Linked DNA regions of Homo sapiens: all the other regions are linked to region 1. Evidence: promoter capture Hi-C in human tissues and cell types (Jung and others, 2019). All regions are on one chromosome and are shown on one strand. Each heading gives the region's core, a stretch centred on a gene start or on the middle of the fragment in contact. The rest is flanking DNA. Distances are from core to core; before and after follow the strand shown. Region 1 holds the start of BLVRA (biliverdin reductase A). Region 2 overlaps HECW1 (HECT, C2 and WW domain containing E3 ubiquitin protein ligase 1). Region 3 overlaps HECW1 (HECT, C2 and WW domain containing E3 ubiquitin protein ligase 1). Region 4 overlaps HECW1 (HECT, C2 and WW domain containing E3 ubiquitin protein ligase 1).

Region 1 (6,782 bases), core at 1,629-4,128:
GCCTGGCTAATTTTTGTATTTCTAATGGAAACGGGGTTTCACCATGTTGCCCAGGCTGATCTCAAATTCCTGACCTCAAGTGATCTGCCTGCCTCGGCCTCCCAAAGTGCTGGGATTACAGGCATTAAGCCACCGCACCCGGCCTCTGTCAGAGATTTCTTCACCAAACCCTCCTTCCACTCTCCAATTCCTTCTTTTTATTTATTTATTTTATTTTATTTTTTACTTTTATTATTTTTTTAATTTTTTTTTTTTTAGATGGAGTCTCACTTTGTCTCCCAGGCTGTAGTGCAGTAGTGCTATCTTGGCTCACTGCAACCTCTGTCTCCCGGGTTCAAGTGATTCTCATGCCTCAGCCTCCCTCCCAGAGTAGCTGGGAGTATAGGCATATGCCACCATACCTGGCTAATTTTTGTATTTTTAGTAGAGACGGGGTCTTACCATGTTGCCCAGGCTGCGACCTGCCTGCCTGGGCCTCCCAAAGTGTTGCGATTACAGGTGGCTCCCGCCTGATTCTTTCTTACATCTTTGGAGATCTCTTCCTAGAATTTCACATTAGTATATCTTGTTGTCCTAATCAAAATCTATACTTTCATATCTTGTTACACATAGGAGAAAAAGAGCTAAGAGAATGACACAGAAATGGAGCTGGAGCCTTAATACACCTCCTAACTGTTAATCTGTTTGGGTGGGGTTTCTGTCACTTGTGGCCTACAGCAGTCTTACTGTCCCCCCAACCTCCCACAAAGTTCTTCAGGTTGAAGAGAGTCACTACTTTGTAGAATGGGAAGCTCTTACTCAAAAAAGTAGAAACTGAATACAAAACTAGACTTTAGAAGGATAAGATAAATAAATCAATGCATTCATAACACATCATTACAAGAAAGTGAGGGGGTTAGAGGTCTCATCTTTAAATTCTGCTCTCAAGGACATGGAGGGCCCCTCTCACAGGCTTTCCCAAAGCTCCTCTGGGTGTACTGGTCTGACTCAGCAAGTGAACATCTGTGGTTTTGCCTAGCCAGCATCCCTTCTCCTAGCAGCAGCACTCAGCATGTCCTTTTGGGGAATCACTCTTTTCTCTTGTGGTTTATTTAAAGTGACTGCACAATCAGACCCCAGAGTTTGGCTTATGTCCTAGGCCTTGCCAGTGAAAATATGGTACCTCATCAGTGGCAGTTATTTTTCCGAGAAAGGACATATCATGACCCAAGGGGCAGCAGCAGGGAGGGGTGGATGGAAGAGACAGATAACAAACAATAAGCTAAATAAACAAATTCAGTCAGGAGCTAAAGAAATAAGTCATTCAGGAGTGGGGCAGGTGGCAATTTCAAATGGAGTGGTTAGGGTAGTTCTCAATGAGGCAGCATTTGAGAAAATATCAGGAAGAGTGAGAAGTAGTCGAGCATTCCAAACAGACAGGAGCCTGTGCAAAGACCCTGCAGCAGAGCCCTGTCTGCCTTGCATAAGAAATAGCAGGGAGGCCAGAGTGACTGGAGCAGAGTGAGCCAGTGGGGAGGCAGTAGCAGATGAGGTTGTAGGGGTAACAGAGGAGCAGATCAGGCAGGGCTTTGGGTTTTACTCTGAGTTTGGGAAACCACTGGGAAGGTTTTGGGCAGAGGAGGAATTTGATCTGGCTTTCTTTTTTTAAGGTCACTCTGGCTGCTTTATGGGGACAGGCTGCAGGGATATCAGGGAAGAGACCACTGTCATGACCCAGGTAGCAGATGATGGAGGCAGAGGTAAGAAGTGGTCAGGCTCTGGGTATGCTAGGGAGATCCAACCAACAGAATTTTTGGGCCCTGGAGGTGGGATGTGAGAGAAAGGTTTCTGAAACAGCAAGGTTTCTGGCCTTGACAACTGGAAGATGGAGTTGCCATCGAGATGGTGATGCTATGGGGAAGAGATCAGGGGCACAGATTTGGATGTGTTGAGATTGAAATGTATTTTAGAGATCCAAGAGGAGGTATTAAGGAGGCAGCTGGATAGAGGAGTATGGAGTTCAGGAGGCAGGTCCCGCCTGGAGATAAAAATTCAAAGCCAAGCCTTCTCTCTTTGCACTCAACAAAACCTCACTTAAACAGGCTTGTCAGGTCATGGAATACGGTACTAGAACTCTTTGTTGGGGAAAATGCCAGTCAACCTTACCCGTCAGAACGCTGCCTTTAAGATCAGAGATCTCTTTCCTTCAGCCTAATCCACCCCTCTCCCTGTTTTCTCCCCTAGCCCCACTAGGCTAGAAGCTCCCTGGCTTCTCCCACATCAGGATCCCCAACAAACCCATTCCCAGGTGGATAAGAGCCCAGGCAGTTCCCTAGACCACGTTCACTACTTCCTAGCTACCCAAGAGCAGGACATCGCAGACACCGGCCTCCTGGAATATTCCCTCCGCTCCTCACATTTACAGGAAGGACTCAGGTAAGCCTCGGCGCCAGTTCAGTCGGCCCGGGGCCACTAAATACCAATGGGATCCAGTGGGTTCTACGTGGTGAGTGGGGGGCGGATAAGAGAGATGCGACACCCCCCGGGCCTGCCCCCCCCACGCCGGGGCCAGGCACACCGTGAGGGGGCCAGGCACACCGTGAGGGGGCCCAGCCACTTCCATACGCCCTCCGGTCGGCCGGCACCCACCACCCACCCCTCGCCACCAAGCTGGGTGCAGAGAACAGGGCAGGCGCACGGACGGTTCTTACGGCCCCAGGCGCCAGACCCAGGGCACAGAGGCCAGGATCTCACGCGCGACCGCACGAGGCCGGGACCCTCCCTCCCCTTCCGTCCACTCCCTTCCCCACCGCCTCCGGTCCCCTCCCGGTCTCCGCCACCCCGCTTCGGGGCCCCCGCCCCCCAGCCGGGCAGCCAATCGGAGCTGGGATCCCGCCCCGGTCCGCAAAGCCGGTGGCGCCCGGAGGCTGCACGGAGAGCGGTGCCCGCGTCAGGTGAGGCGCGCGCGGGGAACGGGGGTCGCGCGCAGGGGAGCGGGGGTCGCGCGCGGCTTCCATAGAGCGCTAGGGCCTGAGCTCGAAGCCCCAGGCCCGCAGGAGGCCCGGGCCCGCGGCCGCCAGAGCCGGGACGCAGCCTGGGCGCCGCCTGCCCCGCCCCGCCCCGCCCGGGCCCGGAGTGAGGACGCGGTCGGAGGCCCAGCAGCGCGGGTCCCGGCAAGGGGCTTTCTCAACTACACAAAAGACAGTCTAAAAAATTAAGTCTCCATTTCGGTTAAGACTGCCCGTAGTTTCGGTTTTTATGTAGACCCAAGAGGGCAGGCTCGGCGTCCGCGTGCCGCGTAGTCCGGCGGCTCCAGGAGCGCGAGCGGCTGGGCCCGGGCGTAGCCACCGCAGGGCCGCTAGCTCGGCCGGGACCCGCCTGGGATGCCCTGGGGTCTGCTCCGCTGGGGCGAATCCTGAGGCGCCACGCGAGGCACTTGGCCTCTCCTAGCCCCGCTTTCGTTTTTGGAAACTGGAAACTATCACTTATTTCGTAGACGGTGTGAGGGTTACATGACAGTGTTCTGTAAAGTGCACTCTACATATGAAGTGCTCAGAAATATGGCTAATAATGAGGGTATTTATAAACTACTTAAATTATAAAAAGAATGAGACATCAGACTTACAGTTTTGGATACTAATTTTTTTCACTTAACGTTCATTATGTGATAGGAGTTTTCCATCCTATTATACCGCTGTGCGATCTGATCTTGGGCACGTTAACCAACCTCTTGTTGCCTCGATTTTCTCACCTGTAAAAGTGGGGGTAATCATAATGCTTACTTAGTAGGATAGCCCTGAAGAATAAGTGACTTAGCGAACATAAATAGCTTACAATAGGGTTTTCAGCATGGGAAGGATTCAGTAAATGTTAGCTGTCATCATCACCACCTACAAAGGAAGCAATACTGTGCTGAAAGTTTTTCCATCATTAATGTAATTTCTATAGTACGATTCCCAAGAAGATATTAAAATTATGGAAATAAAGGTATTGGTATATTCCTAATTATTTCCTAAAAGATTGTATTGATAAATATGCTCATCCTTCCCTTAACGGGATGCATTCCAGAAAAACAAGTCAAATGTTAGACAAAGTATCAGAAGGGAAATTCTGTAGCCAGAGAGCTAAAAATTACAATAGGGTCTCTAATTATACTTCAACTTTTTTAGGAATAATTCTCAGTGTGTTTTCCCACATTTCATATGTAATTTTTTTTTTTTTTTTTTTTTGAGACAGAGCCTCGCCCTGTCACCAGGCTGGAGTACAGTGGCGCGATCTCGGCTCACTGCAACTTCCACCTGCTGGGTTCAAGCAATTCTTCTGACCTCAGGTGATCCACCCGCCTCGGCCTCCCAAAGTGCTGGGATTATAACAGGCGTGGCATGAGTCACCGCGCCCGGCCGATCTTTACTTTTTTATTCTTTGTACCCCCTGCCTATCCAGTTAGCATGTGATTAAAGTCAAAGATTTGCCACTTTGGGCCACATCTATTAATTTTCATCTTTGTTATAATTGTATTTAGTTTTTGATCTACACTGCTTATTACTCCCAGTCATTTTTTCTAGAACTGAAAATCTGGTAAAATACTCAAAATTGCACTGACTTCTATGTAGAGGCGACACTCCATCAGAACCGTGGGCTGACAGGGAATCCCACTGTGCAGGAGCTGCGCGCATTTTCATTTCTGATTCTCTTTGGCGTATCCAGGACTCTGATGACATGATCATATATTTATCAGTAGTAACAGGTTGGGCCATTTGTTTTTTGTGGTAAATCATATATTTAAGATTTTAGAAATAAGTTGATAGCCATGTATTTTGGAATTTGAAAAAGACATTGCATTACTCAGCTTCAAATTAAGCTTTAATCAAATAGTGAAACTTTCCATTAATGGACAGTGTATACCTTTTTGTGTATTTAAAAAAAAAAACACTGAATATAGTGCCTTTGTGACAGGGGAGCTTAGTTCCTGACAATGTCCTCTTGAGTCTTTTTTTTTTTTTTTTGAGATGGAGTCTCACTGTGTCGCCCAGGCTGGAGTGCAGTGGCGCCATCTTGGCTCACTGCAACCTCCGCCCCCTGGGTTCAAGTGATTCTCATTCCTCAGCTTCCTAAGTAGCTGGGATTACAGGCACGCACCACCATGACCAGCTAATTTTTATACTTTTAGTAGAGACAGGGTTTTGCCATGTTGGCTAGGTTGGTCTCGAACTCCTGACCTCAAGTAATCCACCCACCATGGCCTCCCCAAAGTGCTGGGATTACAGGCGTGAGCCATTTCACCCGGCCTCTCTTCCGTCTTTGAGCTGTGAGGAAATAGCTACATTACATGAGCTGCTAGATCTGCCTTATGGTCAGAAATGAAGGTTGAACTCTCAGGAACAGTGACATATATACACACTGATATTTCCAAAGTACAATGCCCCAAATTGATCCACAAAGGAATTAAGGTCATTTGCAACAAAATCACAGAATAGTAACAAATAAATAGAAGATAAATATGGCCAGGAATTGAGATGAGAGAAAGTATAAGTACAAGAAACTATTCCAGGGGAAAAAAAGAATGAAGTGTTTCAGTGTTATCCAATAGAATTTTCTGTGATTATGAAAATGTGCTATATTTAATTAATTTATATTCCAATAGCCACTCTGTGTAGCGGCTCCCTTATAGGTCATTGCAGGCCTATATTTTTGTAGTTGAGTCCCAAATTTGTTTCTAGAAAGGTAAACTTGGTCAGTTACATGGTTCTTGTCTTTTGAAAGTAAAACATACATGGCAACTTCATTCATTCATTCATTCATTGATCCCCCAAATGTTAATGGCCTTGAAGGAAGCAGAGCCTTTCCTGATTCTCAGTTATAGGGAAAATTTTCTGTGGACTTCATTATCAGAGCACCTTGATATGTTATTGCCCTGTGAAAGTCTGTTCAGTTTGGGGCTAGGAGGGATGCAGTCAGTGAAAGTGGCATAGTTTGTAATGTTTTTTAGAGTTTTGAATAATTATGTTAACTAATCTTTATAGAAAAGTTTAAAGTGTACAGAGAAGCAAAAAGAAAGTAGTCACTAAAAGTTTCACCACTTAGAGACATAATTACTGGTAATATTTTGATGTATATATTTCCAGACTTGTGTCCCATGTAGCTATTATATTTTTCTCAATAGATCCCAAAGTATCCAACTCCCTCCAGGGCAAGAGTTGCTTTTACCTTTACCCTTAGACCTCTGAGGCTGGCAGCTGGCCCCACCTGAGAGGGTCACCCTCTCCCTAATCCTTCCCCATACTTCTGTGAGTCACCTGGCTTTGGGGCAATAATAGATACTTGAGAGGGCGTTTGAGGAGGAACAAGGAGGAAGGTCACAGCTGTAGTTCATTCTGCATGATGTGTAATCCAGGCTTTTTCAACTCTGGCACTGTTGACATTTTGGGCTGGATAATTCTTTGTGTATGTGTAGTTGGGGTAGGAAGGTGTCCTGTGCATCACAGGATGTTTTGCAGCATCCCTGGCCTTTCCCTACTAGATGCCAATGGCACATACCCTTTTCCCCCCGAGTACAACAATCAGAAATGTTGGTGAGAAATACTGGGTTAATGAAAATCACTAATTTATTGCTGACAAAGCTCTGGAGTTTCAGATTCCAATTTGCATGTGGGAAAGAGACTGAAATCAAAAGGGAAACATAATGTAAGCCAAGGAAGCTGTTTAGTCCTGGCTGTGCTATTAATTTACTGTGAGATTTTGCATCTCTCCCACGTGCAAATTGGAATGTGAAACTCTAGAGCTTTGTCAGCAATAATTTAGTG
Region 2 (6,782 bases), core at 1,756-4,255, 460 kb before region 1:
AAGATTCCACGAGGCCGGAATCGGTGGGAGAGGCCGTGGGGCTGGTACCTTCCCGGTATCTTTGGTGTATATTTGGTGCATCTTTGGTGTATCAGAGACAAGCTTAGGAGATGGTCACGGGCATCTAAGCAATAGAGATGGACTGCACGAAAACCGTGCCTTTTCCCTCATCTGTAAAATTGAAAATACTGTCCAAAATCCCACAGCAGACTATAGCTTTTGTCCGTGAGTTCAAAGGTTCCAAGTTTAGTCCTGCATAATTGAGAAAAAGACTTAAAAAAAAAAGTTTCCAAACTGCCTCAATTGTTGTCCCTTCCTTTTAGCTCTGAAAAATCAGAAAGATTAGCTGTGTGGAAAATGTCAGAAGAGACTTTCTGTTAAATATGTTAAAGAATTTCAGCAGTAAGTGTCGCCTGAGACGTTTAAGAAATCATAGTAGCTAAGTGTCCCCTTCCTTTTAATGTTCTTCTAGAACCCAGTGAAACTTTGGACTGAGGTGATTCCTCCACACTCCCAGCCCACATCACAGAGTCTTAGTGATCATTTCTCCTTTGCTGTCAGAGCTGAGTATCAAATCCCATTTTTTTGTTTTCAAAATAGAATTGTTCCTTTCTTTTACCATTCCCCTGAATAATTGCTAATAAAGCAATATGCCACTCATCTAGGTCACCTGATTTGCTGGTTTTGATCACAGGGATATCTTGATGCTGTTGGACTTTTCCCCATGGAGCTCTTACTCTGTTAGACAGGTGTCCATTCTGCTGTGGCTCACTTAAAAAGCAAGGCTTTGTCTTTGCCTCGTTGTGATTTCTTTCTTCTATCAATGTTGAGAGCTTGACGGAGGTGCTGGTGGGTTAATTCTCCTCCTTATCCTTTCAATTCCCCCATTCTATCCTAAATCACTACAGATAGGCCTATTCTATACATATATTGCCAGTTCTTCCTTATTTCCTTCCTCTTCCAATAGGAATCTCTTGAGGTAAACCACCTCTGCCAGTCCTCCTATCACAGCCTGCTGCTGAGATGGTGCAGCCTGGTGTGGCTAAGGCGTGTGGCAGCCAGAATTGGAACTGAGTGACAGTTAGAGCTAGAAAGAGCACAAGAGTGGGCAGAGTGATGACAGGGAAGGAACCTGGGAAGGAACGTGCTACCTGTGGCCCCATCTGGAATATGAACTGGCTTTGTCTCCTTTCAAGGGTGGAAGAGGGATAGAAGAGGGTGGAAGAAGGGTGGAAGGAGCGAGAGATTCCTTTATATTGCCAATATAGGTATGAAATGTAGGAGAGAGAGATGACTTTATATTGCTAACGGCCATGCCTGCTTCACTCTTCATCATGGCTCTAAGTTGCTCTCATAAATGCTCTGAGACATCAACACTGAATTTATATCAGATATGGCCGTGTTCATCCGGGGCACTTTGATCACAAAAGGAAAGTGCTGCTGCTGCTGGTTCAACCCCACTGTGTACTGATGATGGGCATTATGGTTCATAATCCCAATGACTGGCACACTTATCAGAGCTGCAGTCCAACATGGGGCCTTCTTCTGGCTTGATGGGTGATCTGGAAAAGCAGGTACGATGACCTCCCACACTGATGTGAGAGCTGCACACTGTCCCTGCACCCGCCCAGGAGCCGCCCCTGCTACTTTGTCAGTAACTTCTGCCACGGTGCCACTTGTTTAGACTTGAGGGACCACTTGATTGGTAAAGCTTCTCCCTGCATGTAGACCTTGGCATTCAGGAGAGCTATACTTGGGCTCCCCAAGACACAGCAGCTCTGTCCACCTTGCTCTCCCCCTCATTGCTGCAGTGTGAAGTTTCTAAGGTGAACAAAACCTCCGTGGCCCCCCACTCTCCAATGGAGAAGGTCTTATTTCTTGGTGTGCCATGGGAGACCCCTTTCACACACTTCCAGCTGCCCCCAACACTGTCTGGCAGACAGCTAAGAGGAGCTCTGCTGAATCTGGAAGCTCAGCATGCTTCTAGTAAAGATACGCTTTTCCACGAGAAGTTCCTTCTGCTTAGATTGGATTTCCCTCAGCTCTTGCCCCTTCCTTCCAGGTCCAGCTTCCATGTCCTCCCATCTGGGAAGGTGGTCCCAGCATCTCTCTCCCTTCTAGGGGGGACCATGCCCACCACCCCATTATTGCCCTCACCATTGTGTCATAGTTGACTGCTTAAATGTCTGCCTCCTGCACCAAACTCTCCGAGGCTATGAGCACTGTTTAAGTCCTCTCTGTATCCATACTCAGCATTTAGCACAAGGCCTGGTACACACTAAAGACTCCATCCACATTTCCTGATTGACTGGGCTAAAGGAAGGAAGAAGAAGCCAGATGCAGTGGCTCACGCCTGTAATTCCAGCTCTTTGGGAGGTCAAGGTGGATCACTTGAGGTCAGGAGTTCAAGACCAGCCTGGCCAACATGGTGAAACCCCTTCTCTACTAAAAATACAAAACAATTAGCCAGGTACGGTGGCACGCACCTGTAATCCCAGCTACTCGGGAGGCTGAAGCAGGAGAATCTCTTGAACCCGGGAGGCAGAGGTTACAGTGAGCTGGGATCGCACCATTTCCTTCCAGCCTAGGCAACAAGAGTGGAAACTCTGTCAAAAAAAAAAAAAAAAGAAGCAGGAGAATAAAACCAAAGACAGGATTTACTTAAAAATAAACCCAAAGATGCTGGGTCAAACCACCCAGGGGATATAAGAATTTAAAAGAGAGCATCTTTACAGCACCTTGATCCTCCATGACAAATGATAACATGCTTTTGAGTATTAATTTCAATGAGGATACAAACTCAGCACTGCATCTGAAACCCTCCTAAGTGTATTTCTTAGAACTGTAATCCCTGTCTGGCCCCATCACCTAATAGCAGGCAAATGAGGACACGACCATGAATGGAGGAGGGAAACACACTGGCTTACAACAGCCTGAGGCTCCTCAGGCTTCTCAACAAGCCTGAGGCTCCCTCCCAAGCCAGGCAGCTCAGGCCATGGATGAGGCAGCTAACTGGCCGCAGGGAGTCTCAAGGTCCACTTGGGGCCCTGCTGCTCCCCTGCTGCGTGGTCAGGGCAGGCAGCTGCCCTTCTCAGGCTTCAGCTTCCCGGTGAATAAGAGGAGGGGCTGGCCCAGAACCCTCCCATGACTGTCACTGTGGGTTCCTGTGTGATTCACAGTATTGTGGGTTGGCTTTTGGAGACTGGACTGTAGCCAAGCAGGTGGTGGTGCCCTGGTTACGGGAAGAGGCACAGTGACCCCACTCAGCACAGCACAAGCCCTGCTGGGCTCAGGATGGAGTGAGGCTGAGGTCATCATGGGGGCTCCTCACAAATGCCCGGTACGGGGCCGCCCCGGGAGGATGATGTGGCTGGCTCACAGCAGCTCCACCTCCCTTTCTCTCCTGTATGGTCCGCAGGGCTCCTGGAGCTGGGCGCCTTGGGCCCCTGGAGCCGCACTGTGGTTCTGGGAGGTGAACACATATCCTTTTCCTCTGCAGGTATCAGTAGGTAAAGAGGAAACTTTTCCACTTTCAATCAGGCTAGTGCCTTCCTGAGGAAGAAACAGTATTTCCTAACATTGAGAAGGGAAAAATGGGTCTCTTTCTCACATCTGTAAGTTCCCATTCATTCTGTCTCTGTGTCTTACACACACACCACACACACCCACACACGTGCACACACACATGCGCGCACACACACACACAGGAATACCAGTTCTCACCTTTCCTTTCTGTGTAAACCAGAGGAGGTGCTAAATATTATGAACAGGAATTTGCCCCAGCTAACCTGACGAGGCCCTCCTGGCTGCCACCTTCCTCCCTCTCCCACACCCACAGCCCCCTGCCCATTCCTCTGCCCATACAAACCACCCAGATTTCAGCAACTTCGCTGCTGAACGCCTCCAAACATAAACCTCCCAAATAACCCAGAGCTGCACCAAGCAGTCCTAGACTTGAGCAAAGCAGTGAATGGTCCAATCATGCCCCTCCTGGAGCCTGGCCTCCAGCTGGTTTCTCTTACGTGTGAGTGAGAATGGTGTGCGAGCGACAAGGAGCAAAGACCACCCCACCCCCCGCCCCCCAACACCTGCCATCAAAGGGCTGCAGAGTCAAAAGTGGGAGGGGATGTTCAACCTTACACTTATTGGTGGATTTTTTTTTATGAGCGATAAGGCATTATGTGTTCCTAAAATAATGTGTCTGACTGGCATTTTAACAAGTTCCTTGTATTTTAAATCATGACTTCCTGTGTGGATATTATCTGGCTTGGCTTGATTTGCTTATTAAAATTTTCTCCCCCTAATGTTCCCTTTCAGCCAGCAATGAGTGGGATTTTATTTCTTTTTCAAAGAAAAGAAGCCCACACAATTTAGTTTATGTAATTCTGTGATATTCTTCCACACAATGGCCAGCACAAAAGAAAGCTTTTTTAGCACATGGCTTTGAGGCTGAAAGCACAAATTGAGGCACAGGTTTCAGGAACAGGTGTCTGGGAGCTGAAGAGTTAGACAGAGATGGTGGTTTAGCAGCCACCTCCCACTCTCCTCCCTTACACCTGAGAGCCCCTACACCCGCCCCTGTCCCACAACATCCCTCATACACAGCAGTTCCCAAGCAGAGGTACAAATGGGTAAGCAGGACTCAAATCTCAGGATGTGAGAGGGAGAGGAGGACCCAGGGGCAGTATTTAATCTCATCCCAACACTTTCTTCTTATTTGACAGGTGATGAAGGCAATTCCCAGAGAGGTGGAGCCCTTCTTTTTAGCCTAACGAATTGTTTCCCTTAACAGTCGTGACTCAGAGGAAATGCGTGGGCTGCAGTGATTTTTGTGATCTCTTGTGCCTGCCATTGGGTTGGGTAGGAGGTTTCTGCTTTTAGACTGTTAGGACCAGCAGGGCCCAGCAGCAAGTAGAGCTCTGGATAAAGCTGCCCTGGCCTGTCTCCAAACCCTCCAACCCAGGCCATCCCCACTTCTCCTGTACTGCCTCAGGGATTCCCGGTGCTTCTGCTGGTCCTGCATCCGGACACCTGACCCATCCCAGTGCAGTCCAGGAACCAGGAACTCAATTCGAGCAATTCTGGGCACCAAGCCTAGTGCTTACAAGAATTCCTGAGCTCAAGGAGCAGAGCCCCATGTCCAGGTGCACCCCAGCCCACACGTTACCCACAAGTGCATTCATTCATTCAACACAGTTATTTATTTATTTATTTATTTATTTATTTATTTATTTATTTATTTATCGATATGGAGTCTCACTCTGTCACCCAGGCTGGAGTGCAGTGGCGCAATCTTAGCTCACTGCAGCCTCCACCTCCCTGGTTCAAGCGATTCTCCTGATTCAGCCTCCTGGGATAGCTGGGATTACAGACACGTGTCACCACACATGGCTAATTTTTTTGTATTTTTAGTAGAGACGGGGTTTCACCATGTTAGCCAGGCTGGTCTCAAACTCCTGGCCTCAGGTGATATGCCCGCCTTGGCCTCCCAAAGTGTTGGGATTACAGGCGTGAGCCATAGCACCCAGCCTCAACAAAGTATTTACTGAGCATCATCTATGTTCTTGCCAGGCACTACTTTTGCTGGAAATGCAGACCTAAAGGAGCTAGGCTGGGCTGCTGTCTTGGTGCCTGCCTTCTAAGTAGAGGGGACTGACAAAAAATAAGTTGACAGGTAAGGCAGTTTTAGACAGAACATCTCATTCAGGCTCTGATCGAAATCTCCATTGAGGCCAGAGAGGAAGCTGCGGGACTGAGAACAGTCACTGAGTTCAGAGTGGAAGCTTTGGGGTAAAGCTTCCCCTAGAAGTGACTGAGCCAGGTAGACTTTGGAATGTGGTCGGAAGGCAACACAGCACAGTCGCTCAGTCCCTAATGAACTCTCTTCCTGCGATGACCTTGGCTTTTGTCAAAGCCTTGTACCAGGAATCTGCCACTATAATCGTGATTAAAAGTCTCTTAAGATCTTACTCACCACATTTCATTGTGTTTCCTACAGAAAGTCTAAGATGAAACATTTCGTTAAGAACTTGGAGGAAGAAAAAAGTCCCTGTATTCTGATCATAAGAACTAAGCTTTCCTTTTATCTTCTTGGCTGCCGAGAAGCTCAGAGAAGTATCTGAATCTCAATTACTGCAATTCTGTCCATCTGTTTTATAATTTGGAGAGAATGCTTAAGAATGATAAAAGTGCCCTCTTATAATCGCCCATAAACAGGCTCAAATCCCCATTTCCTGCCACACGATGGATGACCTCAGAATTTTTATTAACATTCTGAGCTGGGTTTTCTAGCAACCTGAGAATAGTGAAACTGGATAGTGTTTTGTTGTTGTTGTTGTTGTTGTTGTTGTTTGTTGTTTGGGGGGGACAGAGTCTCATTCTGTCACAGAGTACAGTGCATGATCTCGGCTCACTGCAACCTCCACCTCCCGGGTTCAAGCGATTCTCCCTGCCACAGCTTCAGCAGCTGCGATTACAGGCGCCCGTCACCACGCCCAGCTAATTTTTTTTTTTTGAGACGGAGTTTCGCTCTTGTTGCCCAGGCTGGAGTTCAATGGCACGATCTCGGCTCACTGCAACCTCTGCCTCCTGGGTTCAAGTGATTCTCCTGCCTCAGCCTCCCAAGTAGCTGGGATTACAGGCATGTGCCACCACGCCTGGCTAATTTTGTATTTTTAGTAGAGACGGGGTTTCTCCATGTTGGTCAAGCTGGTCTCGAACTCCCAACCTCAGATGATCCGCCCACCTCAGCCTCCCAAAGTGCCAGCATTACAGGTGTGAGC
Region 3 (6,782 bases), core at 2,882-5,381, 350 kb before region 1:
CACCTGTAATCCCAGCACTTTGGGAGGCCGAGGTAGATCACCCTACGTCAAGAGTTTAAGACCAGCTGGCCAACCTAATGAAACCCTATCCCTACTAAAAATACAAAAAATTAGCCAGGGGTGGTGGTGAGTACCTGTAATCCCAGCTACTCGGTAGGTTGAGGCAGGAGAATTGCTTGAACCCGGGAGGCGGAGGTTGCAGTGAGCCAAGATTACACCATTGCACTCCAGCCTGGGCAACAAGAGTGAAACTCCATGTCAAAAAAATCAAACAAAAAAACAAAAGCACAGACTTTGAAATCAAAGAGGCGGGTTCAAATCTCATCTCTGATGTCAACCAGCCCTGACAATCTGTAAGCCTTCATTTTCTCTTTCTTGTATTAAGGATATAATCTCTACCTTGCGGAGTTTGTGTTCAGGATTAAATCAGAAAATGTATTTTAAGTGCTTAGAATGGTTCCCAGAATTTAGTAGATAACAAATAAATAGTAGGTGGTGGTGGAGGCAATGGTAGTCACTATTTTATGATGAATGTTTTATATATATATGTCTTTCACACTCTAATAAGTCAGGATCTCCAAGATCACCCCTAGGTTCAACAATTTGCTAGGAGGACTCACAAGACTCAGCATCTAGATATACTCGTGGTATGACTTATTACAGTGAAAGGACACTTAGCAAAATTAGCTAAGGGAAAAGGTGCTTAGGGCAAAGTCTGGAGGAAGCCAGGAGCAAGCTTCCAATGGGCCTCTCCCGGTGGAGTTACACAGACATGCTTCATTCCCCCAGCGTGAACTGTGACAGCACGTGGAAATGCTGTCTACCAGGGAAGCTTCTTAGAGACTTGAGACTGGGTTTCTACTAGATGGCTGGTTGGGGGACAGTGGGGGTGGTGCTGGTCATGTGTGCATCTTCTGCTTAGCCCACATCAAACTTCCGGCCTCCCAGAAGGAAAGCAGTGTTCACCATAAGCCACATCATTTACACAAACACTTTAGGCACAGTGAGCCACTCGTACCCGTTCTGGGAAGGTAGGAGCCCTCCTGAAATCCAGGTTTCTAGACATTAGCCAAGAGCCAACCTTATAAGCAGTTGAGTAGTCTCAGGCTGCTATGTTAACTTCTGTCTACACACATTCCTGCAGATGTGGCCTGGGTTTTGCAAATTTCTGTGATGCTTGTACTTCCTGCCTTTTTTCTTTCATTGGCAATTGTGGGGGCAAAAGTGACTCCATTGTGGATGTGAATCTGCTGTGTTGACTTCTGATCACCCCCCAGTCTTGCGCATGCCTCCTCTTCCTACTTTATCCACTGTCTCTAGTGTAAGAACATGTCAACCTTGATGTTATGACAGAAACAATAGGCTGTGATGCATGCAGCATTCCTGCCTGTTCTGGAGGGCTGCCTTTCATTGTCTTGCACAGAGCAAGGGCTTATATACCCCTTCCCTATGGTACATAAGCCCTGGGTCTAGGGAGTAACAGTGCAGAGATCTACCAGTCTCCTACAGCCCAAGACCATGCTTATCTGTGAGTTCCCTAATAAAACTCCTTTTACCGACAAACTGGATTTGTCTGCCTCCTTCTTTGGTTTCTCAACTCCTTTGGCATTTGGTGGTCATTTTGAATATACAGCCCTTTCACAGAGCAGTAATACATTATCATGCCAGAGAGTAGGAATAATTTTATTAAGGGGATAACCTTGGATCAACTCAAAATAACTTTTAAATAAGTGCATATGAAAACAACTGTGCTTTTTCGTCAGTAACAAATTATTGAAACCCCTCACAACTTAAACCATGACTGGGAATCCCTGATCCTGTGTATCTTTACCTCCATTTGTTTCACTTGTGTATAAATGTAAATAATTTTGTTTGAAAAATACTTCAATAATAGAAAAGCTTTAAAAATTATATTCCTTGGCTGGGCACAGTGGCTCACACCTGTAATCCCAACACTTTGGGAGGCCGAGGCGGGCGGATCACCTGAGGTCAGGAGTTCAAAACCAGCCTAGCCAACACAGCGAAAATCTGTCTCTACTAAAAATACAAAAATTCTCCAGGCATGGTGATAGGCACTTGTAATCCCAGCTACTCGAGAGGCTGAGGCAGGAAGAAATGCTTGAACCCAGGAGGCAGAGTTTGCAGTGAGCCAAGATCCCACCACTGCACTTCAGCCTGGGTGACTCCATCTCAAAAAAAATTATATTCCTTGACATCATCAATATATTTCTAATAAATATAATGTGATTTCACATTATCCAACTATAAACTGTTGCCTTAAATGACCTTGTGCACACACACTCTTTCTGTCTCTCTCTCCTTGTGCAGCATGAAATTGTACATGGTCAGATATCTTCAATTAAACAGAACAGCTCGATTTTCAAAGCCCTGCCCTCCCTGGCAGCAGGGTTTCTCAGAACTCTCCTCATTGACTGCACTCAGCCCCGTGGAGGCCAGGTCTTGTTTGTTCTTTCCTCCATTGTCCACGCTCTGTGCTCTTTTAATCCTCTCCTTTCTCTTTATTTCTGCCAATTCTCTCACCTTACTCAGTGAGGCCCACATATATCGTGAGACTACAACCCCTATTTTTTTAATGTCTCCACCTTGCAGAGGAATTTTACACCCGGACCCATCAAATTTCCAAAGTTGGACTTTCTCTCCCTGTGCTACCCACGTTTCCTGGGGTGACCCTCACTCCTTCACCCCAGCCTGTTTACCTGCCTGAGTAACACTAGAGATCTAGTTCATAAGGGCCAATGGTCCTCTCATGAAAGGTGTGGTTACCAAATGCCAGTCGTTAACCTCCCTAAAACATATTTAAATTAAAGTATCCTTTATTTTATAGATTTCCAAGCCATGGGGTTGAAGAAAGGGATGTTTTTCAACCCAGACCCTTATCTGAAGATTTCCATTCAGCCTGGGAAACACAGCATCTTCCCCGCCCTCCCTCACCATGGACAGGAGAGGAGATCCAAGATCATAGGCAACACCGTGAACCCCATCTGGCAGGCCGAGGTGAGTGCTGTGGGCCCTGAAAAAAAGCCCAAGTAAAAGTGAAAGGGCTGACTGTGAACCAGCCCTCCTCCTTCCCTCCATTCATGGAGCCCTGGACTCTGCTGCTCAATCTATGGCTGTCATGGTCTTAGAAGGGAGCCATGTTCTCCAGGGGTTGCAACTCAGGGATCTTGATCAAGTCCATCCGGACAGTACTAACACACTTTTCATTGCACTGCATGCAGTAGCCTCTTCTGATTCAGAACCCATGCCGCGAGCAGGACGGCCTTTCCCTCTGCCCTTCATGTGGGAGAAGGAAGACAAGAGTTGTGATCAGAGCCTTCCAGTTTCTCCACAGCTCTTCCCATGCATGTGATCCTTGAGCAAGGGTGTCAAATCTTAAATATAGCCTTCTAGACCAGTTTCAGAGATTCTAAAACTGGGAGGTTCCTGGGATAGGTGAATCAGTAAGCCCTAAAATATCCCTGGTTGGGTTAAATATTGTTTGATTTAAATAGATAATGAAGCCTAATGGTTTATCCTATCTTCATGATTTGCAAAGGGCTGGGCAGCTTGCTACAGTATTGAATAGTCTATGTTGTCTACAAAGGCCCTTCTCCACTCCTGAAAGTGTTGCCTTTGCCAGGGGTTAGGAGGGTCCTCCAAGTTCTCTCCTAAAGGACATGTAGAAAGTCGGCACCACTTATTTGGCCAGGCAAGGTAGCTCTTAGGGAGGCTAGGGCAGGTGAATCGCTTGACTCCAGAAGTTCAAGACCAGCCTGGGCAATATGGCAAAACCCCATCTCCACCAAAAAAAAAAAAAAAATTAGCTGAGCCTGGCGGTGTGTGCCTGTGGTCCCAGCTACTGGAGAGGCTGATGTGGGAGGACTTCTTGAGCCTGACAGGCAGAGGTTGTAGTGAGCTGGGATCATGCCACTGCACTCCAACCTGGGTGACAGAGCGAGACCCTGTCTCTAAAAAAGAAAGAAAAAAGAAAGTCATCACCACCCATTTGGCTGCCTCCCTGCCAGACCTGAGCTTGAAGCTATAACCTCCAAACCATGTGACTGAGGGGAGGGGAGGCCTAGGTCATGAGAGTGGATGGGGTATAATGTAGGTTAAAAGTACAGTTTTACAGTCATAGAAACCTGGATTCTAATCCCAGTGTGGCCAGTTAATAGTTTATAAATTTGAGAGATCAGTTATCCTCCACCTGAGCCTTAGATTACCCTCATCAGCCTATTATTGATGGAAACGTGCTCCCACCAAAGGAACTTGCTTTGGAGAGGATTTCTTCCTTTATTTTTCAGAGTAGATCATCTCTGATTTAGAGCTTTCAAGCATCCTTGACAAGAAAACATAATTAGACATATGAGAGCAAAGATTTTTTATTATCTATTAAATCATACCACCCCCTTCCTGGGCTTAATTAGCGCTCTCCCAGGCTTCCCAGAAGAGCTTCGTTAGAGCTTTGAAGTGGACGTGAGGGAAATAGACTTGTACTTAAACTTCCTCCTAGCGTTGGTTATCAACAGATTCTAAAACACTGATAGCACCGCTAGAATGGAATAATGAATCTTAATTTGTTTCTTCAGTCCTGCCTGTGTTCATCAATTATTTCTGAACTCTTCCCTGCATTCCTAGAGATAATAAAAGATGTCAAAAGAATTTATTTTGTATGGGGGGAAAGGCTTCTCTCTTCTGAAGGACTTTAGAGGAACCTGTTCTAAGACATTTAGTCATAAAGGTGTTTTAAGTGTCAGGGAATGTTTGGAAAATCCAGCACTATCAGAATGTTTTTTGGCTAAAAACGTCAACTAGAATTCACTTTAAGTTCTGAAATGATTTCTGAAGCTTTGGTTAACACTGATTTTGTTCTGGCAGAATACTGGCAAACTCTCCCCAGCCCTCTGCTCTGGGCCACCTCCCTTCCATCCCACGTGCTGCAGTTGGAGTTATTGATCTAAAATATGCCTCATCTCATGTCCCCCTGGTAAGGCTCAGGCTGAGGATAACTGATGTCCCAAGTTAAACAGTGTGTAACTGGCTAAAGGAGATTTGAACCAAGGTTTGTGTTGCTGCAAAACTGTCCATTCAACCCCTAAATTGTACTACAGTTCCCAGGGTCCAAGTGTCAATGTCATAGCTCCTCTGCAGAGCATTCAAAGCCTTCTTTGATCAGGCATTGCTTACCATTATGTCAGTTAAGGATGTATTTGGCTCCATGCAAGGGAAAGTCTGGCTGGCTCTGATATTTCTCACAAACAAGACATCCAGAGGGAGGTGATCCAGGCGGTGCCGCTGCTGAGTGAGCCCCCAGGGATCCCAGCTCTCCGGGCCTGCCACTGCACCATCCTTAGCAGATGGCCTCATCCTCCTCTGTTAAAGCCTCAAGTCCAAATTCCAGGCAGGAAGAAAGCAACAGGCCAAAAAAGCCTTCTCCTTGCAAGACTTTGCATTTTCTTCCTGGGAGAAAATGACTGGGTGGCTTAAACAACAGATATGTATTTCTCAAAGTTCCGAAGCTGGGAAGTCCGAGCCCAGGATGCTGGCACGGTTGGGTTCTGGTGAGGGCCTCTTTGGGGATGCAGATGGCTGCCTTCTTGCTCCATCCACACGTTAGAAAGAGAGAAAAGGAAAGAGAGCACACTCTTATAAGGACACTAATCCCATCGTGAGGACCCTATCCTCATGACTCCTCTAAACGTAATGACCTCCAAAGGCCCGGCCTCTTAATACCATCACTTTGGGTGTTAGAGTTTCACATATGAACTTGGGGGTTGGTGGTGGAAGGAGACACACACACACACACATTCAGTCTATAACAGGTTTCAGTCCACAACAGGAAGTTTTCCTCCTCATATTTTCTGGAAATGTCTGTGTATAATTATTATTTCTTCCTTAAATGTTTGATATAATTTACCAGTGAAAACATCTTAGGCTGGAGTTTCTCTGTGAGAAGACTTTAAATTATGAATTTAGTCTTTTAAATAAAAAGAGTCATTTAGATTACCTATTTCTTCTAAGAGAAAGCATTTGTCTTTCAAGAAATATTGCCATCTTTTTGTGTTGTTTGGCATAAAGTTGTTCAAAGTATTGTTTTATTGTCTTTTAATGTTTGTAGGCTTATTAAGGACAATACCTCTTTCATTTATATATTGGTGAATTGCTTTTTTTCTCTTTGTTTGTTAACCAATCTAAATATGGGTTTATTAAATTTGTTTATTTTGTGAAAGAACTAGCTCTTGACATCATTTTCTCTATGTTTAACTGTTTTCTATTTATTTTTATATATGCCCTTATTTTCATTTATTTATCTCCTTTATTGCCTTCTATTTTTTTTTTTTTAGCTCCTTAGGGTAAAAGTCTAGGTCTTGCTTTTAGACTTACATTTATTCTCTAATACAATTATTTAAGCAATAAGTTTTCTTCTAATCTCTGTTTTAACTGCATTTTATAAATTTGTATATAATTTATACTTTTATTATCATTCCGTCAAAAATATTTCTTCATATTCCTTCTTTGACCCATGGATTATTTTGAAATAAGTTGTTTAATTTCCAAACCTGGGGATTTTCCTAAATATCTTCTTGTTACTGACTTTTAATTTTATTTTATTGTGGTTAGAGAACATACTCTATATGATTGCAATCTATTTAAATTTATCAAGCCATGTTTTACAGTCCAGCATATGATGCATTTTGGTAGGCTTACCATATCAACTTGAAAAGAATGTATATTCTCCTATTGTGGCATATCAAGTCCTATAAATATCAGTTGAGTCAAGG
Region 4 (6,782 bases), core at 1,681-4,180, 260 kb before region 1:
AAGCTTTCATGGTTTCCATCACATATGAAATAAAGTCAAGATTTTTTTTTTTTTTTGAGACAGAGTCTTGCTCTGTTGCCTGGGCTGAAGTGAGATGGTACAATCTCAGCTCACTGCAACATCTGCCTCCCAGGTTCAAGCAATTCCTGAGCCTCAACCTGACAAGTAACTGGGACTACAGGCATGTGCCACCACACCCAGCAAAATTTTGCTAATTTTTGTGCATTTATTAGAGGTGGAGTTTCACCATGTTGGTCAGGCTGGTCTCAAACTCCTGACCTCAAGGGATCCACCCATCTCAGCCTCCCAAAGTACTGGGCTTACAGGTGTTAGCCACCTCACCCAGCCTAAAGTCAAGATTTCTAAGCATAATGTCCATGGTCTCAAAGTCTGGCCCTAACCTAACTCTCCATCCTGCACTAAGCTTTTCCTTCCAGGGTATTCCACCTCCACCACACAGGCTGCGTACTCTCCTGCCTTTGTCTTTCCGGGAATGACTTCCCTATTAAGGACATCTCATCCCGTTTTAAAGGCTCAGATCAAAAGCAAAACTTCAGTGATCTAGGCAAGCTTTAGTATTTCTTTTTCTTTGAGGGGGTGGGAACTTCCTGATGTTACCATGGCATTTGTTTTTTTGTTTGTTTGTTTTTAATTTTTTTTATTATACTTCTAAGTTCTGGGATAAATGTGCAGAAAGTGCAGGATTGTTACACAGGTATACATGCACCATGGTGGTTTGCTGCACCCATCAACCCGTCATCTACATTAGGTATTTCTCCTAATGCTATCCCTCCCCTAGCCCCCATTCCCCAACAGGCCCCGGTGTGTGATGTTCCGCTCCCTGTGTCCATGTGTTCTCGTTGTTCAGTTCCCACTTATGAGTGAGAACATGTAGTGTTTGGTTTTCTGTTCTTATGTTAGTTTGCTGAGAATGATGGTTTCCTAGTATTTCTTTTGTCTTGCTTTGATAGTATGCTTTTTGTGCCTCGAAGATATTTTTAGATCTCTTGTATTCTGTCATTTACTTGTGTCTCCCTACAGCACTCTAAGCTCTTTAGAGCAAGGCCTTTCTCTTCCTTGTCTTTGTGCCCACTCTGCCCCTTACAACCTGGTCCTCTACTTTGAAAATAGGAAACACCAATTACTTTTAGAGTGAATGAAAGATCTTTAGCATGAACAAGTGATCTTTAGCGTGATGAATGGCCACTTTCATTTATGTTCAACTCTTAAGAATTCTCTCCCCTGGTTTCATTACTGCACTGCTGCAGAAGGCAGAGTCATATTCAGCCACCTGGGTCATTCATTCATGGGCTGCTCTTTGACTCACCTAACAACCCAAGGGAATTTTCAAGGGATTTCCAGGGATGTTGTATTATCTTAAGGGTTTTTGACGCGTGGTTGTTCTTGAACATTCTTTACGTTACTGATTCTACCATTAAGTAGTGAGTTCACTGCTTGCTTTGTGGAAGAATTTCAACTCACCAAAGACACAAAAGTCTCATTTTAATCATTAGAAAAGGTTTTTTTTTAAGTAATTCCCTACATAAGTGAGTGGAATGTATTTCCAAAAGGCAGTAGACTGTTTTCATCCCTATTATATATCACATTACAACAATCCAAGAAACTTTAAATGTTTTGTTGCAATATGGGATTGTACAATTATGATTTTGCAGAGCTGGGGGAACTTGAAATCAGGCCACGTTGGAATTGGAAAAAAAACTTGGAAATTATCTAGTATGGAAACTAATAACCTATTTTAAGGTTATGGACTCCTTTGAGATGCTGATGGAAGCACTTATGGACTCTCCTCCACATATAAATATAAACCTCTGAATATAATTTCAAATAGTTAATGGACCCTAAGGAAACTGTGGACCCAGGTTGAGAACCCAAATATTTCATCAAAAACAGAAGGCTCACGATGACTATCAGAAACTGGACTATGTGATGATAGAACTAAAACAGCAGAAAGCAAAGAGCAAGAACTTGTTCTTCAGGAGGTCAAGCTTAAGAGATGCAGGAAGCCAGGCCCTGCTTTCCATGAGGAGGCATCCACCTGCCCCTGAGTGCCATGTCAGGGTGAGTCAGATCCACTTTGAAGGTTCAGGAGTTGAAGAGAATACCACTCTCCTCAGGACCCCACCCAGAAGAACTCATGGCTTCCTCTGTGGTCCCCAAGAGCAGATGGTGACCCCTGTTCAGCCATTGCTATTCTCAGGGAGTCATGGAGTCTCTGTCTTGGGTCTGCAAAGCCAGTTGCTGGGTTTGAGTATGTAGAAAACTGTCCAGTTGACAGCAGTGACTTGCGGTGAAAAGCAGGAAGCCACATGTAGAGAAGGGGATGGAGCCAGAAAACCCAGAGGTTAATGGCATCTGTTATCTTCAAGGGGCATGGAGGTGGTCCTTCAACTAGTGCTTTGATTGTGTCACTCATCTGAATCAGGATTGTCCCAGGGCTATGTATGCAGTAGCAAGCGAAACAGACCTGTAAATTCTCAATGAATTTACAATCTACTGAGGGAGACAGATAATAGACAAGCTTGGGGTTTGTTTTTTTAAGCCATATACAGCTGCATAATATGTTAAGTGCCATGAAGAACATGATTAGAATTCAGCAATAGTGGATAATATGCTGGTGCAGAGGAAGAGGACTTACATCCTAAACAGAACACAGGGAAGGCTTTTCCAGGTAGGTGATGCTTAAGCTGAAACCTGAAGGATGAGAAGGCATTGTCCCTTGAGATGCAAAGTGGAGATCAGGGAGAGAGTATGCAATGGCCCTGAGGCAGGAAAAGCTTAGATGTAGGTGAAAAATGAAAGAAAGCTAGTGTGGCCCAGGAGTAGATTGGGAGGGTAGGTGAGACCTACCATGGTGAAGTTGGAGAGGGAGGCCCTATCACCAACCGGAAACATTTTATTTGAATTGCGATTCTATTTGAGAAGTGATTGAGAAGTTTTCAGCTGGAAAGAAATATGATTGCATCTGTGTTTTTAGTGACCACAGATGCAATCATATTTCATCTGTTTTTCATGACCACCAATGAAATATGATTGCAGCTGTGGTCGTTAAAAACACAGATGCAATGTTTAGGCAGCTCTGTGGGGAAAAGATAGGCTGGGGAGGGGCATAAGATGGAACAGGGGCTATGCAGGAGACTATTATATTCATCCATGATGATGGTCGTGTGGATAATGGGAAAATATGGATGAAGAGAAGGGAGCAGTTTGGGGTGATACTGTGGATGCAAAAACAACAGGAGCTGATGACAGCTTGAACATGGTGGGTGAGGAGAAGAGAGTAATTAAGAATGACAGCCAAGTGTGGGGCTTGTGCAGGTGAATGGATAATGGCATCATTTACTGAGATGGGAAAGAGTGGAGGAGGAACTGGCTTGAGGAGAGGAAGAATGTCAAGGATTTTATTTTGGATATTGAGTTTTGAGGTCTTTGAAGCCACAAGCGGCTTCAAATGTCAAGATGTCAAGGAGGCAGTCGCCTGTCCTGTCCTGAACTCTAGGGAAAGTGTGCTCTGGAGTTCTCCCGATGGTCAAGGGATATATGTAGGAGAGACAGCTGGCATTCTTGCCCTTAGATGGCTTCCTCAGTTCTCAGTGCACTTTGGGATGGAGTCCCAGGGGCATCTGGAGGTCCCTTACACCACTGGCTATGCATGACATGTTGCCAGACATGACAGAGGATATAATGTCTGGTGGAGAGCCACCAAAACTCTCAGAAAATCGGGCTTAGCATTCAGACACCTGGATGTGGTCCATATGGTGGTGCCACGATAGAACCACTGTGCTGGGTGGCACTTTCTAAACTGGGGACTGCACTTTGCTGCCCTAGTGGAGATGGCCCTCTCTGGGCTTCTTTTTCCCGCAGGGAGGGAGGCCAGTGGCTTAACCAGATGTTGATCCCTTGGGGCAGGAGGATAACCTGCCCAAGGGTACATTATCATTGGGAGAGCATATAGATTTGAGGTCATTCATAAGGCCAAAATCATTAAATTAGAGAAGATTCAAGAGCATCTTCCAAATAACGGGGCTGTGAGGTGGTGTCAGGATTTGGAGGAGAAAGCCCAGGGCTGGGGTTGAGGACATAGGCAGAGGGAGAAGAAGGTGATGAGAGAGATGGGGATGTTCTGTTCTCTTTGCTGGGCTTTCACATGTTCCCTGCTAAATGACATGTGGACACTGCTGCTCCCTTTTTCAACCCAGTCAAAGAAGCCACTGTGAACACCCCCCAGGTTCTGGTGATGCCATTTCCTGCAACGGTGCTTCACCCGCACTGAAGTTGGATCAGAGTGCATTTCCCTGTTTAATCCCATTCTGTCTATCTTTGTAGAGGCTCAAAATCTTCCCTTGCCTTAAAAAAAAAGATCTCCATACCAAAAGGTCAAATTGACTATATTTTTTGCCTGAAAATCTCTAAGTTATGATGAAGATTTGGATTTATATTAATATAATCAAAGAGAGGAAAAAGTTGTACCTGCAGTATTTTGGAAAATAGATTTTTTTTTTCATTCATCTTTTGGGCCAGGCTCAGTGGCTAAAGCCTGTAATCCCAGCACTTTGGGAGGCTGAGGCAGGCGAATCTCTTGAGCCCAGGAGTTCAAGACCAGCCTGCGCAACATGGTGAAACCCTGTCTCTACTAAAAATACAAAAATTAGCCAAGCCTGGTGGTGTGCGTTTGTAGTCCCAGCTACATGGGGGGACTGAGGCAGGAGGATCACTGGAGCCTTGGGAGGTTGGGGCTTCAGTGAGCTGTGATCAGGTCACTGCACTGCAGAGTGAGCAACAGAGTGAGACCCTGTCTCAAAAAAATAAAAAATTTTTTAAAGAAAATACAAAAACCTAGCTGAGTGTGGCGGTGCATGCCTATAATCCCAGCTACTCAGGAGGCTGAGGCACAAGAATCGTTTGAACGCAGGAGGCAGAGGTTGCAGTGAGCTGAGATTTTACCACTGCCCTCCAGCCTGGGCAACAGAGCAAGACTCTGTCTCAAAAAAAAAAGAAAGAAAGAAAGAAAGAAAACAAAAGAAAAGAAAATCATCCATCTTTTACCACTGGGAGAAACTGAGTGAGGGGTATACAGGATCTGTCTGTTTATTTCTTATAATTACACATGACTCTAAAATTACCTCAAAGTGTAAAAATTAAACAAGAAAAGAAAAAAGTTAAAGATTAAAAAAAAACATCCTTAATTTTCCCTATTTCTGCTGCATCTCTTCAAAAAAGGCAAAAAATATTAACTCCTTTGAAGCATGCATACGATAGAAAGATTCTTGGATATGGTGTTTGTAATATTTGAGTAACATCAGGGAAGCAAATTAAAAAGTTAATTTGATCCAAAAAAATCCTACTTATCCATAGACTTACTTGAAATAATTTGCCGAGTTGGAGTTGGAGGTTGTCTAAAAGGATCAGAATACACGAGTTGTAGCTGACAGAGACAAAATTGATGCCTGTGCCTTGACTGACCTGGGAGACTGTTCTTGGTTCTTGGGGCCGGGCCCCCTCTGTGCCCAATGTGGCATCATAAATTTTCCATCAGGCACAAGATTTCTCAAGAGACACTCACCCCGCAACTCACTCTTTCCTCCCATGGCTTCCAACACGACATGAGCCAAGAACAGTCTTTTTTTTTTTTTTTGAGATGAAGTCTTCCTCTGTCGCCCAGGCTGGAGTGCAGTGGCACGATCTCAGTTCACTGCAACTTCCGCCTCCCGGTTCAAGCGATTCTCCTACCTCAGCATCCTGAATAGCTGGGATTACAGGCAGGCAACACCACACCTGGCTAATTTTTGTATTGTTAGTAGAGACAAGGTTTCACCATATTCCTCAGGCTGGTCTTGAACTCCTGATCTCGTGATCTGCCTGCCTCAGCCTCCCAAAGTGCTGGGATTACAAGTGTGAGCCACTGTGCCCCGCCCCAGAACAGTCTTTCAGGAGCAATCTCTTACCCAGCTCCACTCCTGACTGTCTTAGCTACCTGAGGACCTAACTTTGCTGTGTTCCTCAGCTTCTGTACCTGTGCAAGTCTGTAGAAAAGCCATCCCTCATAGAGCATCCTGAGAGCCTGTGATACAAACTTAGAATTCTGCAAAATACATAGGACGTTAGGACATTGCTATTCAGCAGTATTGGAAGAGGAAATAAGAGATCAGAAGAAAATGTATTTCTGAGTTTATGTGTTGGCATCTAATTTTCCTCTTCTTTCTCACATGATTCAGGGAGAAAATCCATTACATTCGGACTGAGGGTAATCACGGGCTTGAGAAGTTGTCCTGTGATGCGGATCTGGTCATTTTGCTGAGGTAGGGGGCTAGGCCTGAAATCCTTCTGGAAAAGCTTCCCTGGGCAGCTCTCCTCCATCACGGCCACCCTGAAAATGGCCTAGACTGAAAAACTCACCGCTTGTTCTAGAGGATTCTAGTAACTGCAACGCAAGTGGGACCCCACCCTTGTACCTGTGTCCATCACAGTCCTTAGATTTGCAATTGAGCTAGCAAGAGCTGCGTAAAGTACTTGATGGAGACTTTGTTGTAGGATTAATCAAGGTTTAAAACAACACTGAGAATTTGCAAGCAGCATGTACCTATCTTTCTGTACTACATTTAAATCTAATTGCTTTTGTTGCTTTGTGAGAAGTGTAAGTGCTGCTACCCCAATTCGTGAACACTTTCTCAGGGATGTAAAACTGACTTTCTTTTCTTTCTTTTTTTTTTTTTTTTTTTTCATATGCAGTCTCTTTGAAGAAGAGATTATGTCCTACGTCCCCC

The links. The method cuts DNA at HindIII sites, captures the fragments that hold promoters and counts their contacts. A contact is called where the count stands out against the background at its distance.
Region 2: a fragment that was not itself captured here is called in contact with the fragment with the promoter of BLVRA in region 1 in 2 of the 25 tissues and cell types used here (IMR-90 fibroblasts and mesendoderm cells).
Region 3: a fragment that was not itself captured here is called in contact with the fragment with the promoter of BLVRA in region 1 in 1 of the 25 tissues and cell types used here (mesendoderm cells).
Region 4: a fragment that was not itself captured here is called in contact with the fragment with the promoter of BLVRA in region 1 in 1 of the 25 tissues and cell types used here (H1 embryonic stem cells).

The regions. Positions count from the first base shown.
Region 1 is chr7:43,755,802-43,762,583 of GRCh38, forward strand. It overlaps BLVRA (biliverdin reductase A), which reads left to right and starts at 2,879. Exons shown (of 8, transcript NM_000712.4): 1 at 2,879-2,933. It also overlaps the pseudogene LOC107986727. RefSeq lists a cis regulatory region at 795-1,562 and silencers at 2,584-2,973, 2,984-3,303. The HindIII fragment of the contact is 11,547 bases long and covers 1-6,775 here.
Region 2 is chr7:43,299,264-43,306,045 of GRCh38, forward strand. The region is part of intron 3 of HECW1 (HECT, C2 and WW domain containing E3 ubiquitin protein ligase 1); the gene reads left to right. It overlaps LOC102724903 (a long non-coding RNA gene), which reads right to left and starts at 1,048. Exons shown (of 3, transcript XR_428133.5): 1 at 671-1,048. RefSeq lists an enhancer at 4,963-5,463. The HindIII fragment of the contact is 4,198 bases long and covers 907-5,104 here.
Region 3 is chr7:43,404,717-43,411,498 of GRCh38, forward strand. It overlaps HECW1 (HECT, C2 and WW domain containing E3 ubiquitin protein ligase 1), which reads left to right. Exons shown (of 30, transcript NM_015052.5): 8 at 2,846-3,015. Among named protein-coding and RNA genes, the nearest start is that of LUARIS, 110 kb to the right of the region's middle. The HindIII fragment of the contact is 6,695 bases long and covers 785-6,782 here.
Region 4 is chr7:43,494,466-43,501,247 of GRCh38, forward strand. It overlaps HECW1 (HECT, C2 and WW domain containing E3 ubiquitin protein ligase 1), which reads left to right. Exons shown (of 30, transcript NM_015052.5): 20 at 6,234-6,317; 21 at 6,748-6,782. Among named protein-coding and RNA genes, the nearest start is that of LUARIS, 25 kb to the right of the region's middle. The HindIII fragment of the contact is 3,285 bases long and covers 1,289-4,573 here.